2 separate regions of the Homo sapiens genome follow, and region 1 is linked to region 2. The links are contacts of gene promoters, found by promoter capture Hi-C in human tissues and cell types (Jung and others, 2019). All regions are on one chromosome and are shown on one strand. The core of a region is centred on a gene start or on the middle of the fragment in contact, and the rest is flanking DNA. Distances in the headings are between cores, read along the strand shown.

What was found. The method cuts DNA at HindIII sites, captures the fragments that hold promoters and counts their contacts. A contact is called where the count stands out against the background at its distance.
Region 1: a contact is called between the fragment with the promoter of HYI here and a fragment that was not itself captured in region 2, in 2 of the 25 tissues and cell types used here (H1 embryonic stem cells and pancreas).

The regions. Positions count from the first base shown.
Region 1 is chr1:43,452,413-43,455,358 of GRCh38, forward strand. It overlaps HYI (hydroxypyruvate isomerase (putative)), which reads right to left and starts at 1,519. Exons shown (of 8, transcript NM_001190880.3): 1 at 1,183-1,519; 2 at 974-1,085. The coding sequence starts at 1,381. It overlaps SZT2 (SZT2 subunit of KICSTOR complex), which reads left to right. Exons shown (of 72, transcript NM_001365999.1): 72 at 1-1,835. HYI-AS1 (HYI antisense RNA 1) reads left to right here and starts at 1,515. Exons shown (of 2, transcript NR_174945.1): 1 at 1,515-1,641. RefSeq lists an enhancer at 1-295 and silencers at 1,086-1,145, 1,256-1,555. The HindIII fragment of the contact is 20,604 bases long and covers 1-2,946 here.
Region 2 is chr1:43,419,246-43,421,945 of GRCh38, forward strand. SZT2 (SZT2 subunit of KICSTOR complex) reads left to right here. Exons shown (of 72, transcript NM_001365999.1): 8 at 489-699; 9 at 908-1,078; 10 at 1,504-1,738; 11 at 1,929-2,058. Among named protein-coding and RNA genes, the nearest start is that of MIR6735, 28 kb to the right of the region's middle. The HindIII fragment of the contact is 6,068 bases long and covers 1-2,700 here.

The DNA of each region.
Region 1 (2,946 bases), core at 269-2,768, 33 kb after region 2:
CCAGGTCTCCAGTCCATGGCACCTGGGTCACGATGCCCAGGTATCCCAGCACTTTCAGAGACACTTCAGTGATGGCTGAGGGGCAAGCCCTTTCCCAGACATCTCAGTGTCCACCCACCGCCTCCTGCCTCCAGTACTTTCCAAAACCTTTCCTTCCCTCGGTCCTTCTCCGCAACCTGTAACCTGCTAAATTCTCACCTTTAAAAATTGTCCTGACCTTTGCTTGCCCTTCTCAGGTATTCCATGCTGCTGTCTCTACTTCCTCTCCTCGCATCTACTTAGCCTTTTCCCATCTGTTTTCTGCCCCCACCATTGACCAGTAGTGATCCCCTCTTGCCAGTTCCTTCTGAGCCTGTTTGGCCTCTGCAGGATTTGACATTTGAATCAGCCCCACTTTGAGCCGTCCACCTCCTCCCATCATCCCCTGATCTTAGCCACATCCAGCTCCAAGCAGACATTCCAGGCCTCCCCATCCCAACAGGCTACATACATGTCCAGCCTCAGGAACGCTGCCAAATACACCAGGCCTCCTCTTGCCACAGCACCCTTGCAAGGAACACTCAACTTCCTGCCCATCAAGCAATGCCCACTCCTTGAAGACAGTCCAAGCATCACTACCTGTAAGCAGCTTTCTCTGATCCAGACAGGGTTAGGTGCCTACCCTGCTCCCACAGCTTCCTGGAATAGGCCTGTCCTCAAATGCATCACTGTATATATTTACTCTCCTATCTGCCTAGGCAGACTGAGCTCCCAGCATGGGATCCCAGCATGGGGTGAGCATGAAAGAGTGGCAAACAGAGTGGCATAAGACAGATAAAATACAAAAGGCAATTTACAAAGGACCAGGACCGCAGAGGCAGAGATAAACCAGTGGGCTCAGACTTCTGAGCGTCTCAGATCTGGCGTCCTCGACTCCCTGAACCTGCATCAGGGTCATGGGTCACAGGGGTGGGGGTGGGGTGGAGCGGGGTACCTGGGACAGCCCAGGGCTTTGGCATACCGCACGGCCTGCTCCAGTCCCTCTCGGAAGGCCGCCTGTCTCCCGGGGACGGCCCCCAGCCCCATTTCCCCCTTCTCTTGGTCTCCTGCAGAGAGAACGGGCCTCAGCCCCCGGCTCGGACACTCCCCTGCCCGCGCCCCGGCACCCCCCAGCCCTCCCAGCCCTCCCGGCCCGCGACGCACCCGGGGGCGTGTTGATCAGTACAAGCCGCAGCCCCGCTTCTCGCGCGGCGCGCGCCAGCGCCTCAGGCGTCTCCGCGTACGGCCAGGCCACCTCGACGGCCTCGAAGCCCGAGCTGCCCGCGGCCCGCACCCGCGCGGGGAGGCCGGAGAGCTCGGGGAATAGCCAGGACAGATTGGCGGAGAAGCGCAGCGGCGCCATGCCTGGGGAGGCCGGGCCGGGCGGAGTCCGCGGGATCCAAAGGCGGCGGGCGGCGGGCGGCGGGCGGCGGGCGGGGGCGGGGCTCTCCTTGCTGGCCCTGCGAACGAACGAGCACTGTTCGTGGTTAGAAAAGCGAAGTGCTGTAAAAACCCGGGCCTTCACGAAAAGCGCCTACGGTTAGCGAGAGAGGGATCACGGGGAGAGGCGAAGGGGCGGAGCGAGGGCGGCCGGAAAAGGAGCAGGACCCGCGCCTGGAGAAGGTAGGGAGGCCGAGCTCCAGGGCCTGAGAGCCGGACGCGAAGCAAGAGAGAGCTGGCTGCCCGAGGGCCCGGTTGCAATGATGGGACGCGCACTTTAATACTGAGTCTTTCCTCTGATTATAAAAATGCTATCTGTTCGTTAAGCAACATTTGAAAGCTGTATGACCAAATAAAGAAGCACTTTTATACCGCCAGTTATCACACCACTAGCCTGTTGGCTTTCCCGTCCAAATTTTAAAATATGCAATTTTTTTCTTTGGAAATTCTGATCATTCGGTATATGCTGTTTTATAGCTCTTTTTCATGGAATATTATTTTGTGAGCATTTCCTCGTGTTTTCCAATAGCCTTCAAAGTCAGTGCCTTCGCTGCTCATTGTCGCACACCTAAGCAGCAAGTCATTATTGTACTTTGTGGTTGGATATCGTGTGTGTGCACGCGCGCTGCAAGCGCACTTTCAGGCACTTCTTAGTCCCTATCTCTGACTCTTTTCCGAGTCTTTTTCTAGAGATGTCCATCACAGTGTTTGCCCGTTCACGCCGCTAGTCTTTTGCAAGGGAAACCGCCCCATTGGAGCAGCTATGGGTGAGCTGTCCCTTTTTAGCCTTAGCCTCAGCTGATTGGACCAGGGAGGTCATCTGATCCCAGGGCAGCCAATCCATAGACTGGCCAAAAACCTCTTACTTGCGTCGTTTGGAAAGGTAATTTAACCAATCAAGAGTTCAAACAAGGAAATGCTGAGAGTCAACAGGTGGTGTTGCCAGAAGGTGACTGGGCTGTAGAAACGAAATAAGACAGTCCTATGGTAAAGAAAAGCTAGAGCGGAAAGGAGGGGAACCAAGTCCTGTGAATAGAGGTAGCACCCTGAGAAACCCATGTCATCCCAAGGGTGCCCAAACCCATAGCTGCCCCCAGGTCTGTGCACTTAAGGCTGGGATGCTTAGACTTTCCTGGGTTTCTGTCTCTGTATAGCCTCTTAATGTTTCTTGAGATAATTTGAATGATTTTACTTTCATCTACAATAACCCAACTGATTGGGCAGGTTCTTATGGGTAGAATTACATGGTCAAAAATAGGAACATATTTAAGTTGTTGATATCTTAAATTTCCTTTGAAAAATATAAATTTATATCCCAACAATTCATGAGTAAACGTCATCTTGATCTATCGTCTGTGCTAACTTTGACAGAGAAGCTTAAAGTGCAACATTAGGAACACCCAGCTCCCACTGATTGTTCTGTCAACACTCAACTCCATCTCAAATGAGGCCAGCTCAGACACCAGGGATCCAGCCTGATCCCGTGGT
Region 2 (2,700 bases), core at 66-2,565:
TATATGTAGTTTGCTAATTTCCCACCTACAGCTATTGTATTCAAAATGTAGTCCACAGACCAGCAGAAAGCTTGTTTGAAATGCAGAATCTCAGGCCCCACCCCAGACCTACTGCATTTTAACAAAATCCCCAGGTGTTTTTCATACACCCTAAAGTTTGAGAAGTGTTGGTAAGCTGAAGTCTCTCAGGATGATGACAGGAAGTCAGTGAACCAGTTGCCAAAATCTTTAGTGAAGGAGGTGGTGGGCCTTTAGGTATCGAGGAGGAAGCAAAGAGGATGCTGTGGCCGGTTAGCATGGGCATCAGACAGAAGGGCTTAAGGAAGGAAAGACACAGACAGTGGTCTGTCCTGGGAAAACACTGGCCTACTTCCCACTCTGTGGTCCAGGGAATGGGAGCAGCCACCTAGCCCAGTCTCTTTCTCTCCTGTTCTTCCTTCTCCTATGCCTCTGTCAGAGCTAGGTCTTCAGTTGCTCACTTTTTCCAGGTGGGAGGAGTTTACTCTTATGACTGCAGTTTTGGCCATGTGCCCAATGTGGAATTAATGAAGTTCATCGCAATGGCAACATTTGGGTCCTACCTGTCCACTTGTCCTGAGCCGGAGCCAGGCAACCTGGGTCTGACTGTCTACCACCGGGCATTTCTCCTCTATTCCTTCCTGCGCAGTGGGGAAGCACTGAACCCTGAATATTACTGCGGTGAGAGGCACACTGAGGTGGGTGTGGGAAGGAGGGAATATAGAATGGGCCCAGAGATGATGGGGCCCTGGAGGACTGAAAGTGTAACTGGGGCTGGCTCTGCTGGCACTGTTACCTCACAGTCATTTCAGCATAGCCCCTTCCCCCTACAGATCTGTCAGTTGGCAGATAACCAGTTTCTCCTTCCCCATCTCCACTGGTCTTCCAGGCTCTCAGCACCGCCTATTTAATGAGCACCTGGTCTCTGCAAGCAGCAACCCTGCCCTGGCCTTGCGCCGGAAGAAGCACACTGAGAAGGAGGTGCCAGCCGACTTGGTCAGCACTGTGTCCGTACGGCTTCGAGAGGGCTACAGTGTCCGAGAGGTCACACTGGCCAAAGGTAAGGGTCATTAGGCCCTGCTGTAATCCCATAGATCTCTCAAGAATTTGTGTGTGGGAAGACCCACATGTATCACACATGAAAGAGTGTCACATTGAAGTCCTTATCACTTGAGACAGTGGGTTTTGAATTGTCATCAGGGCTTAATTCTCTTAGCATGGAGCTTCCCAATTCTATCTCCTTTTGCCCAAGGTGAACCAGCTGAGGGTGGTATAGGGTCCTGAACTTGGCTTAGTTTTCAGATTGTTTCTACAAACTTGTGTTTGTGTCAGTGGGCCAACTCTGGGCCTGAAACCTGTGGAACCATGCTTGGAACCTTTGGCAGGACTGGGTTCCATGAGGTAGGTGGGGGTTTCAGATAGAACTCGATCCCAGGCCTAGAGTCCTATGCCTTCTCCTAACTGGCCCTTCCGCTTCTCCCTAAGGAGGGTCCCAATTGGAGGTAAAGCTGGTGCTGCTGTGGAAACACAACATGCGCATTGAGTATGTGGCTATGGCACCCTGGCCCCTGGAGCCTGAGGGCCCTCGAGTAACACGGGTGGAAGTGACGATGGAAGGCGGCTACGACATTTTGCATGATGTGTCCTGTGCACTAAGGCAGCCCATTCGTTCATTGTATCGTACCCATGTTATCCGGCGTTTCTGGAACACGCTGCAGAGGTCAGTGAAGTCATCACTCAATGAGTGCTGCCCCATTTGTTGTATGGAGGGACAGATTTGCAAAGGCGGGAGCTGGGGAGCATCACCCAGAGAACCAGGCTTATATCCAGGGTCCCATGTCCCCCTAAGGCTCCCCTCATCTGCACCCAGCAGAGTCAGATATGGCTCAGGCCTGGCCCTTATTCTACAGCATCAACCAGACAGACCAGATGCTTGCCCACCTTCAGTCCTTCTCCTCAGTGCCTGAGCATTTCACGCTTCCTGACAGCACCAAGAGCGGAGTGCCACTCTTCTACATCCCTCCAGGCTCCACCACCCCGGTGAGTAGCTCTGAAGTATAGTAGCCCCATTTCATGTCAACTTGGGTTGCACAGCATCTGGAGCCCAGGACCACCACCTTCTATTCCTTTCTGTCTCACGTCTAAGGCACCTAAGCCAGAAGCCCAAGCTTTAACCTTGAGAGCTTCTCTTCTCCCTAAGGCCCCGGGGAAGAGGAGGATCTATACAGACAGGCTGTCCTGAACAGAGCACAGGTGGCAGAGGCAAAGACTCACACAGTGTCTAGGTGGTGGTATCCCAGTCCCAGCAGACCGTGAGCCCTTGCCCCATCTCCACGTGACATACTCTGGGCTTCCCCAGCCGCCTTCACCTGTGTGCATCCACCACCAGCCACCATGAACTGTGTACTCCCTGAAGACTACAGCTTCCTTGGTCCTGTGCTGTCTTCACACTCAGTCCACGCTGTCAGCCTAACACTGATGGGAAGGTGGCTTATGCTAGTGTGCAGTGGCCACATCATGAGGTCCTGCCACCATTTAGGGGCTTTTCTCCCAAGTCGGTGACATAAGCTGGGCTTATGGTTCCATCCTTCTGGATTCAGCTTTAAAGGGCTACACAGTCTGTCCCTGGGCTCAGTCATCCAAATCTAGCCTTCATAGTGGAAACAGTTTTTGCCTGTGCTT